3 separate regions of the Homo sapiens genome follow, and all the other regions are linked to region 2. Evidence: promoter capture Hi-C in 16 types of primary human blood cells and fetal thymus (Javierre and others, 2016). All regions are on one chromosome and are shown on one strand. Each heading gives the region's core, a stretch centred on a gene start or on the middle of the fragment in contact. The rest is flanking DNA. Distances are from core to core; before and after follow the strand shown.

Region 1 (3,468 bases), core at 117-2,616, 87 kb after region 2:
GTGTGGGAGGAGGTAGCCTGTACCTAGGCTGGTTAAGAAGGAATGTGTCTTCAGTGAGTTCTAAACCAACCCCGCCCCCCTCAGGTCTCCTCTCTTTAATGTCCTCTTGGTTCAGGATCCTGTTTTTCCATAATCAGCCATAGAACCAGAGTGTCTCAGTGCCAGAAGGCTGTTCAAGTTCATCTCACCCAGTCTACCCTCTCTGTTATACCTCTCCCCATTTTCATGAAGGATCAGAGAGGGGAGTGACTTGGCCAAAGTCAAACTTTGGCTGTACAAGATTTGAACCCAGCTCATCTGCCCTCCAGGTATAGTTCACTTTAGGGCCAAGAGCAATACAGCCCACATGGCACCTTGGCAAGGTCCCCACGGAGCAGCAGGAAGGTGGGAGAGAGGGAGCAAATAGTCATACAAATTAGAAAGACATTTGACAGGCAGAATGAGAGGATTTGGTGCCTGGCTGTGAGGGGGGAGGGAGGAGGTATGGAGGTTGGGGCCTTGGCAGCAACTGGACTGACGGTATGGGTGGTCTGCTGGGGGTGGTGTCTTTGGTTCATCCTCCCGCCAGGATGAGAGATGCCAAATATGGGGCCTCTGCCTAGCACTGGGGGCCACTGGGGAGGGCTGTCGAGACTGTGAGGAGAAAAACTGGGGAAGGGGGATTGTCCCCCCCTCAGGTATGCTGTGGGCTCTGTCAGCTTGAGGGGTGGGATGTGGGGACAGTGTCTGGGGACAACAAGGAGGGAGCGCTCTGTGGAGGGGGAGGCTGTCTTTGGGGGCAGGGGCTCCCTGATGAGAAGTGGCTAGGGGCTATCCGTGGAGGTGGGAGTTTGCCATGGTGCTGGGCAGACAACCCATATCCAAACAGGAGGGAGGGTGACCAGCGCCTCCAGCTAGCACCAGCGCCACCACACCCCCAGATGTGTGTGTGTGCATCTGTGTGTGTATGTGTGTTTGCGCGCGTGTATGTTGGGGGCCATAGCAATGGTTGTTCTCACCTGAGCTGGGGATAAGTAGGCGGCTCTGCCTCCTTCTCTGCACCCATGGGCCTGGACTGAGGTGGGGGGTCTCCTGCCCAGGGGTGGGCTCTTCAGTTGCTGCCGCCTAAGGCGGAACCACGGGTCAGGGAGGTGAATCAGGGCAGGACATGAGGATGGGAAGGGAGAGTGGAGGGGGAGGGGGCCAGGGCCTCCGCCCGGTGGGTTTGTTGCCTTGAGGACCCGGTCCCACTCGCATTACCTGAGGCCGGTCGCCGGGTCGCTGGATGGCTCCGAGCCTCGGCGGGCCGCGGGAACCGAGGCTGGCTCGCGGGCCGGCAGCTGTGCTCTCCAAGGTCTGCGCCGGAGCCGCCTTCCAGCTCTTGTATCACTATGTGCCTCCCGAAGGCGACACTATTTGCATAAGCCCCGCCCCATCCCGGGCAGGTTGCACGGCTATTGGCTCCTCTGGAGCGGAGTGGCAGGCGGGGTTTCAGGTGGGGACCGGGTGGCCGGCGAGGCCCGGCCGCAGGAGCGCGCCCCGCCTGCCCGCGCTGACCTTCCCGGAGTCGCCGGGAAGCGGGAGGGCTGCACCCCCATCTGCACCCCTGCCCTGAGGCTCAGCCCCCGGCTTACAAGTCTGGGGTGGAAAGGGTCGACGATGAAAGTGGATTCTCAAAAACAACCTCACCGTTGCTATGGAAACGGGAGAACCACAGCCGAATCTCTAAGCTTCCTTTCCTGGGCCCCAGCATGGGTGGGGGCGGAAGAGGGGATGAGTCACAAGATGAGACCCCCCCCCACACCCATATCCCACCCGAAATTGGGAGGGGCCAAAGAGGAGCTGGGGAGGAGCTGGGTGGGAGAGGGAGGAGGTGGCTGGTCAGCAGTCCACATCTCTGCGTCCCCCCTCCCCACGCATCCACTCCCCTCACGCCGTGGGGCAGAGAGGAGGGTGCTGGTTGCGCGCGGAGAGCGCGGTATGGGTGGCGAAGTCCCAGCCTCTACCTAGCCCCGCGCTAGTCGTGGGTTCCCTCCAGCCACCCCTCTGGCCCTTCATTCCGGTCCCTCCCCAGACGGGCCCTCCTCCTTTCTCATGGACCCCCAAGAGGCCTCTCGCGTTCTCCCCCGAAGGACCCCTATGCCTAGCCATGGATCCTCCATTCCCCACCCTCCCGTTTTCCCGTCCCGCAGACGGAGCCGGTCCCCAGCCGCCGCCAGTCTCCGGCCTCGGATGTTGACACAAACCCGAGGCGGTTTACACTGAGCGGGTCTGGAAGCTTTCAGGGCCCCGGCAACACCTCCTCCCCGCACTTGGGGGTCTCCCCACAGCCCGGGCCGGCCGCCTGGGCTGCACTGGCGTCTGAGAGCTCCTGACACAAGGCTGTGGGAAGGAACCCTTTTAAGCCAAACTGGGGGCAAAAGGGGAGCCAGACATCCCCGGGCTGGGCCACGTGCGGGGCAGGGACTTCTAAGGATCTGTCGAAAGTCGGGGCGGACGGCTGGGGATTGGCCTAATCGGAGCGCGGACGCTGAAGAGCAGCGGTGAGAGGCGGGGCTTCTGTCCGCGCGGCGAAGGTAGAGGTGGGCTGGGCGGGGCGATGGAGGATGGGGTCAGACCTGCCGCGAGTGGGGGCGAGGCTTCTGGAGCTGGTCCCAGAAATGCCTGGGCCAGGCTCGCTGGGGGAGGAACCCGTGGACGTCCCTTTTCTTTAGGACCTGTCCCGTTGCCCCTTGAAACGGTTTTGCTCTACCATTTTCGAGGCTGCGGACTATGCCTTCTCTCTGCGGCCTTAGCGGGGGCTGAGGGCTCCAAGGAACCTGCAGCTGTAGGAGAAGGCGCGTCCTTGGCACTATGGGTTGGTGACTCATGAAAGACAGGTGTTTGAAGCTCTAACTCTTTCACTTCTCTGATACCTTCTCAGCTCTGGGTCTTGGGGACCCAGAGATGAGCGAGAACCCCCCTTGCTCACAGTTAACCATAATCCAAGGCGTGAAGAAGTGGGGAGAGGCAGCACAGGTTACTAGAAGTGGTATCTGAAACCCTAACATTGACTGACCCAAGTTCATATTGCTAACATTGAGTCTCATTTTTGCCAATGATTCCATTTACGACCGTGGGCAAAACCCTTCTCATTCTGGGCCTCCCAGTCTGTGAAATGTGGGAGCTGGCTCAAGAGGTCCAGAGGAGCAGGGGGAAATTTTCAACCAGGTGGGTGAAGAAAGACTGTCCCTTGGACAGAAGTATGTGGACATGAATCTGACTGCTCCACTTAAGAGTCCTGAGCCCCTTAACAATAGCTAATGTGTATCGAGAGCTTACTTTGTGTCAGGTGCTATTCTAGCATATTATATGTTACCATATAATATAAATTGGGAATAAGTTACTCAATTTATTCCCCATAAGAGCTCTGTGAGGCAGGTTCTATTATTACTCCTACTTAACAGATGAGGAAATCAAGGCACAGAGCGGTTAAGTGACTGACCCAAG
Region 2 (3,166 bases), core at 621-3,120:
GTTTCAGCATCTTGTCCAGGCTGGTCTCGAACGCCTGACCTCAGATGATCCACCCGCCTTTGCCTCCCAAAGTGCTGGGATTACAGACATAAGCCACTGTGCCCAGCCTCAGATTGCCTTCTTTCACTTAGTAACATGCATTTGTTTCCTCCATTTCTTTCTGTGGCTTGATAGCTGATTTATTTTTAGAGTTGAATTAATATTCAATTGTATGGATGTACCACAGTTTCTCCATTTACCTACTAAAGGACATCTTAGTTGCTTCTAAGTTTTGACAATTATGAATAAAACTGCTATAATCATCCATGCACAGGTTTTCTGGGCGGATATGTTTTTAACTCATTTGGTTAAATATTAAAAAGCATGACTGCTGTGTTGTATGGTAAGAGTATGTTTAGTTTTGTATTCCTTTACATTTAAAAATGTTTCATAGTTTTCTGAGAAAACATCTAGCCATCTTTTGTTATATGTATATTTTGTATATTGATCAATGCAGATCAATATGTTACATGTATATTCCTAGGTGCCTTATAATTTTTGTTGCTATTGGAAATGCATTATAAATAATACATTCTTTCTTTTTTTTTTTTTTTGAGACAGATTCTCACTCTGTCGCCAGGCTGGAGTGCAGTGGTGTGATCTCGGCTCACTGCAACCTCTGCCTTCCAGGTACAAGTGATTCTGCTGCCTCAGCCTCCCGAGTAGGTGGGACTACAGGTGTGTGCCACAACGCTCACCTAATTTTTGTATTTTTAGTAGAAACGGGGTTTCACCATGTTGGCCAAGATGGTCTTGATCTCTTGACCTCGTGATCCACCCACCTCGGCCTCCCAAAGTGCTGGGATTACAGGCGTGAGCCACCCCACCCAGCTTTTTTTTGCTTTTTTTTTTTTGAGATGGAGTCTTGCTCTGTCCCCCAGGCTGGAGTGCAGGGGAGCCATCTCGGCTCACTGCAACCTCCGCTGCCCGGGTTCAGGCGATTCTCCTGCCTCAGCCTCCTGAGTAGCTGGGATTACAGGCAAGCACCACCACACCTGGCTAATTTTTGTATTTTTAGCAGAGACAGGGTTTCTCTATGTTGGCCAGGGTGGTCTCAAACTCCTGACCTCGGTGATCCACCCACCTCAGCCTCCCAAAGTGTTGGGATTACAGGTGTGAGCCTCCAAGCCCAGCCACATTGAGAGGTGAAGCCACCTGGACTTCTGGGTTGGGTGGGGACTTGGAGAACTTTTCTGTCTTACAAGAAAATTGTAAAATGCACCAACTGGCACTCTGTAGCTAGGATTGAAAAATGCACCAATCAGCGCTCTGTGGCTAGCTAGAGGTTTGTAAAATGCGCCAATCAGCACACTGTAAAATGGACCAATCAGTGCTCTGTAAAATGAACCCATCAGCAGGACATGGGTGGGGACAAATAAGGGAATAAAAGCTGGCCACCCCCCCCCACCCCAGCCAGCCACCACAACCGGCTTGGGTCCCCTTCCAAGCTGTGGAAGCTTTGTTCTTTCACTTTTCATAATAAAACTCGCTGGTGCTTACTCTTTGGGCCCGTGCCATCTTTAAGAGCTGTAACACTCACCGGGAAGGTCCACAGCTTCATTCTTGAAGTCAGTGAGACCAAGAACCCACCAGAAGGAACCGACTCTGGACACAATATGTTCTTATTTGTTGTTACTCCAATAAGCAATTAACAAGAGTGCTGTCAGAATGTGTGGGATGATCTTGTATTCAACTAACCTGTCAAATACTCTTATCAATTCTAATGCTCTGCATGTAGATTTTTATTTTCCAAATAGAAAATGAATCATGCATATAAGAATGGTGTTACCTCTTCCTACTTCCTAAGCCTCTGATTTCTATTATATTTATTACATTAGCTAGAAATGCCCATCAAATTTTGAATAAAGGGCATTCATATTTTTAACTTTTATGGGAATGCTAGAGTTTCACCGTTGAATTTGATGTTTAGGAATTTGGCAAATATCCTTTATAGGGTTAAGGTATTATCCTACTAATCCTAATTTGCTAAGATTTGAAAAATGAATGAATTCATCAAATGATTATTTATTTAAGTGATTATATACTTTTTATCTTTTAATGTATTAAGGTTCAGAACAGGAATTCTTTCCCTGTTGTTAACCTATCCTTGCATTTTTGGCTAAACTCTACTACATATTTGCTTCTAATTTAGATGTCATATGGATTCTGTTTTATTATTTAGGATGTTTGTATCTATAACCGTAACTAAGCTTGTTCTAAAATGTTCTTACCTTTAATTGCCCTGTCGTGGGCTGATGACAAGGGCATACTAGTATTACAAAACAAGTTAGGCAGTTTTCCCTTCTTTTCCACCCAGTAAAAACAGTTTGTATAAAACAGAATGTATTAGTCAGGGCTCGGCGTGGTGGCTTACGCCTGTAATCCCAGCATTTTGGGAGGCCGAGGCGGGCAGATCATTTGAGGTCAGGAATTTGAGACCAGCCTGGCCAACGTGGTGAAACCCCATCAATACCAAAAATACAAAAATTAGTTGGGTGTGATGGCACATGCTTTTAGTCCCAGCTACTTTGGAAGCTGAGGCACGAGATTCTCTTGATCCCGGGAGGCGGAGGTTGCAGTGAGCCGAGATAGCGCCACTGGACTCCAGCCTGGGTGACAGAGCAAGAGCCTGTCTCGAAAAAAAAAAAAATGTATTAGGGCTCTCCAGAGAAACAGAACCAACAGGACTTATTTTTATTTATTTATTTTTTTTTTGAGATGGAGTCTCGCTCTGTCGCCCAGGCTGGAGTTCAGTGGCACAATCTTGGCTCACTGCAATCTCCACCTCCCGGGTTCAAGCGATTCTCTTGCCTCAGCCTCCCGAGTAGCTGGGACTACAGGCGCCTGCCACCAGGCCCAGCTAATTTTTGTATTTTTAGTAGAGACTGGGTTTCATCATATTGCCCAGGCTGGTCTTGAACTCGTGACCTTGTCATCCGCCCACCTTGGCCTCCCAAAGTGCTGGGATTACAAGCGTGAGCCACTGCACCCGGCCAGGACCCATTTATTTATTATGAGAAACTGGCTTATGTGATTATGAAGGTTGAGAAGTCCCAAGATCTGCAGTTAGCAAGCTGGAGACCCAGGAGAGCCAATGTGTGTTCCAGTCTGAAAGTCTACTGGCTTG
Region 3 (3,392 bases), core at 702-3,201, 68 kb after region 2:
TTGTTTGCATGACAACAAATTTGAAACTAGCGGCTAGAATGCCAGTGCAGACTTAAGCTTCAGCATCCGGCCAAGTTGTTGCTGTGTTTGTATTTGTACAGTATTGAGAAAGTCCTGATTCAGACCAATAAGTGGTTGGAAATGCTAAAAGGTTTTTTGTTTTGGTTTGTTTTAAACTAAAGGCCTTACAATCTCAAGACGCTCTTTGATGGAACAGATCACAGGGGAAGCCTTATTCTGAGCTTTGCTTTAAAAAAATCTGCAGCACAAGCTAGTGGCCTTCAAGCTGCTAAAATGTCCACCTAATACATTAGAGTGAGTTGGGTTTTATTACACATTTTTAATTGTTTAAAACATAGTCCGAAGAAGAAAGAAAATAAATTGGATTCACATGTGTGCAGACTCCCTGAAACATGGGGCTTGGGGAAGCTAGTTTGGAAATCCCTGACCCCCTTGAGTAAGGTCCAGACTCCTTAACATGATCCCCAAGGCCCTCTGTGGGCTCTTCCACATCCCTCCAGCTCTTCTTCCAACAATCCTGCATTCTTCATTCAGTACTTATTCAGGAACACAGTCCTGAGCTTCAGAGACATCTGCATGACTTTTGCCTGTCCTGTTTCCCTCTCCCTGGGAAACTCCACCTACTCAGGCTTTAAGATCAGGATACGTGCCACTTCTACAAAGCTTTCCCCAGTGTGATGTCACTACTCTACTCCCCCCCCAACTCCCCTAGGCTCTCATCTCTGGAGCCTCCATCATTGTGCAGTGAGCTCCTGAGGCAGGGACTCAGGTTATTTAATTCTTCAATCCCCACTCTTGAGCAGAGCTTGGAGGTGCTAATTGAATGATTGCTGATAGGGTGGACCTGTTGGGGAAGGGTTCTTGGAGGGAAGCAGCAAATTGCTTTAAGATCAAGCTGGAGCTCTTTGGAGGACCGCTGTGGGCCAACCTCTATTCTCGGTTTTCTCCTCAAGCTCTGAGATCTGGGAAGTTGGAGACAGCAAGGTCCAGGGGCAGACCAGGGCATCATCAACTTGTTTGATGGCAGAGAGGAGAGAGCTCCTCTGTGAGGTCCCAGACGGTTGACACCACCACAGGGTCGTGGGGATGTTAATGCCCACTGCAAGGGGAGCAGAACCCGAGCTGGGGGGCAGAGTCCAGCGCTGGGAGCCTGCGGCCAGGGGCGCCGATCGCCCCCCAGCGCAGAGTGTGGATCCCAGTGCCTGGAGAGAGCAGCTCCCTTTCCTTAGGACGCGGGGAGCGCACTGCCCCCAGCCCAGGGCCCAGGACCCAGAGCCAGACCCCAAACGCAGAGTCTCAGGTCCGGAGCCCGATGCCCAGATGGCGGAGACCGGAGCGCACAGCCAGGAACCGGGTTCCCAAAGTCTGGTTACCCGCGCCTGGGGCGCTTCTGGAAGCGCTGCGGACCAGCTTCGCCAACAAGTGCAATCCGCGCTCCCCGGCGGCCCGAGTGGGGAGGGGCTGGGGCTGCGGGCCTCTAGCTGGGCCCTGATGACAGCATGGGGGAGGGGGAGCCTGGCGTGGAACCCGAGTCCCGGTAAAAAAATACACCAGAGCAGAGCTCCCAAAATAAACCCGAGCCCGCGCCAGCTGCAGGGCGCATTCTGGGGCTGAGGAGCTGCGTCCCCTCCCAGAGGGGCGCCACGGGTCCCTTCCCAAGAGACTTATGACCCCTCCTCCGGGGTAACCCTTCCCCCGTCCCCCGCATACCCGTGCATTGCTTTTACCGATTTGGGTTTCTTCTTGGGCGCGAGGTTGTCGTAGAAAATCTTGGCTTCCTCCCAGACCGGGGCCGCAGCGGTCTCCGCTCCTGGCCCGGGCTCGCGGGGCTCCTGGGGCTCCCGGGGCTGCCCAGGTTCCATGCTCCGGCTCTGACCCGGCCCGGCCAGAGCAGGCGGCGGCGTAGACGCGGAGGTGGCTGGGGCTGGGCTGCAGGAGGGAGGCGAGTCCCGGCGAGGGAAGGGGGCGGGCAGCGGCGAGGAGGCTGTGCGTGTGAGCTGGGCTCCCCGCCCGCCGGGCGGGGGGAGGTCACACTGGCCCTCTCGGTCGCCCGTGTGTCGCTGCCGCTGCTGCTGCTACTGCTGTACGGTATGAGGGATAGCTGGGCTCTCCTTCCCCGACCGACCCACGCCAGCAGCCGGTTGGGTGGTGAGGGGGGCTCTCTGGCTCTCTGGGTTTGTGGGCTGCAGCGGATTGGGGATTGCGAAAATGATGTTCTTCGCAGGCGCTGCAGGGCGCGGAGACAGGAGAGGCCTGACAACTTTTTTTTTCCCCCAGGATAGTGATCCCCAAAGGACAAAATGAAAAGCTAGCCGCTCCCCTCCCAAAAGCTAGCTGCCCATCTTTCCTTTAGGAGCTAGGACCCTGGGATCCTGACGATGTCCCCTTCCCTCCGAGGCCAGTCCATCCGGCAGACGGGCAGGAGGTGATGCATGGATGGCTCCTCTCACTAGCAGAAGCCTGCTCCCAGCGGGAGCTCAGTGAAGGGCCCAACCCGGCAGCTCCTCCACACCACCTAGGAGGGGCCCTTGAAGTCCATGTTGAGACCAGGCTCGGGTGGTCTCAGGTCGAGACCTTGGCCTGGGGTGGGGACCCAGGCCAGAGAGACTCCCAGGGACTCTGAACCCGAATTCTTGCTGGCCCTTTGGTGGTCAGCAGAGGGCGCGCATTCCTAGGCCCCCACCTGCCCAGCTTGGGGTGATTTGTTATAGGCCATGAAGGGGCTGGATAGAGGGAGGGCAGAAGAGGGGCCTCGGAACTACCATCCTGGAATTCCAGGGTGTTGTCCCTCTTGATGCAGAGCTCTGTACTAGTCTCAGGGTGCAGACACAAATGTCACCCATCCCAAGGTACAGGCCAGGAAGCAGACAGCCTCTCTCAGAGGTGTGCATGGGTGGGTGGGAGAAGCAGGAGAAAACACTGGCTTAGCTAGGAGGGCCTCTGACTGGGGAGGTGAGGGGGCTACAGAATGGAGTGATCCCCTCAGCCTCCACCAGGTCCTGGGAGGAATAAACCAACCCTTGTGTGGGAGGAAGGGAAAAATCATAATAAAATGTTAGGATTGGGGGAAGTGTGTTTAGACTTACTTCTAGAAGATTGTTTCCAGAGATGGCCCAAAAACCTCTTCCATCCTGCCTGTCCTTTGGAAATGTGACTTTGACATTCCTCCCATTCAGAGGTGGAGTCCAGTCTGAGCTGGCCCTGTGACTTGCTTTGACCAATTGAATGGAGTAGAAGTGGTGCTCTGTGGTTTCCAAGCTTACGTCTTAAGAGGCCTTGCAGATTCCATTTTTGCCCTCTTGGGAGCCAGCTACTATGTAAATAAGTCTGGACTATCCTGCTGGAAAGGCCACGTAGTGAGACAGATAGGA

What was found. The method cuts DNA at HindIII sites, captures the fragments that hold promoters and counts their contacts. A CHiCAGO score of 5 or more calls a contact.
Region 1: a contact is called between the fragment with the promoter of HPCAL4 here and a fragment that was not itself captured in region 2, in 2 of 17 cell types (endothelial precursors and M1 macrophages). The highest score is 5.9, in endothelial precursors.
Region 3: the fragment with the promoter of NT5C1A here is called in contact with a fragment that was not itself captured in region 2 in 3 of 17 cell types (megakaryocytes, M1 macrophages and M2 macrophages); the score reaches 6.2 in megakaryocytes.

What each region holds. Positions count from the first base shown.
Region 1 is chr1:39,690,067-39,693,534 of GRCh38, forward strand. HPCAL4 (hippocalcin like 4) reads right to left here and starts at 1,367. Exons shown (of 4, transcript NM_016257.4): 1 at 1,240-1,367. RefSeq lists silencers at 1,144-1,223, 1,444-1,673 and an enhancer at 1,746-2,336. The HindIII fragment of the contact is 11,293 bases long and covers 1-1,707 here.
Region 2 is chr1:39,602,566-39,605,731 of GRCh38, forward strand. No RefSeq gene overlaps it. Among named protein-coding and RNA genes, the nearest start is that of PABPC4, 27 kb to the left of the region's middle. The HindIII fragment of the contact is 753 bases long and covers 1,495-2,247 here.
Region 3 is chr1:39,670,156-39,673,547 of GRCh38, forward strand. It overlaps NT5C1A (5'-nucleotidase, cytosolic IA), which reads right to left and starts at 1,952. Exons shown (of 6, transcript NM_032526.3): 1 at 1,749-1,952. The coding sequence starts at 1,883. RefSeq lists a silencer at 1,735-2,144. The HindIII fragment of the contact is 2,595 bases long and covers 683-3,277 here.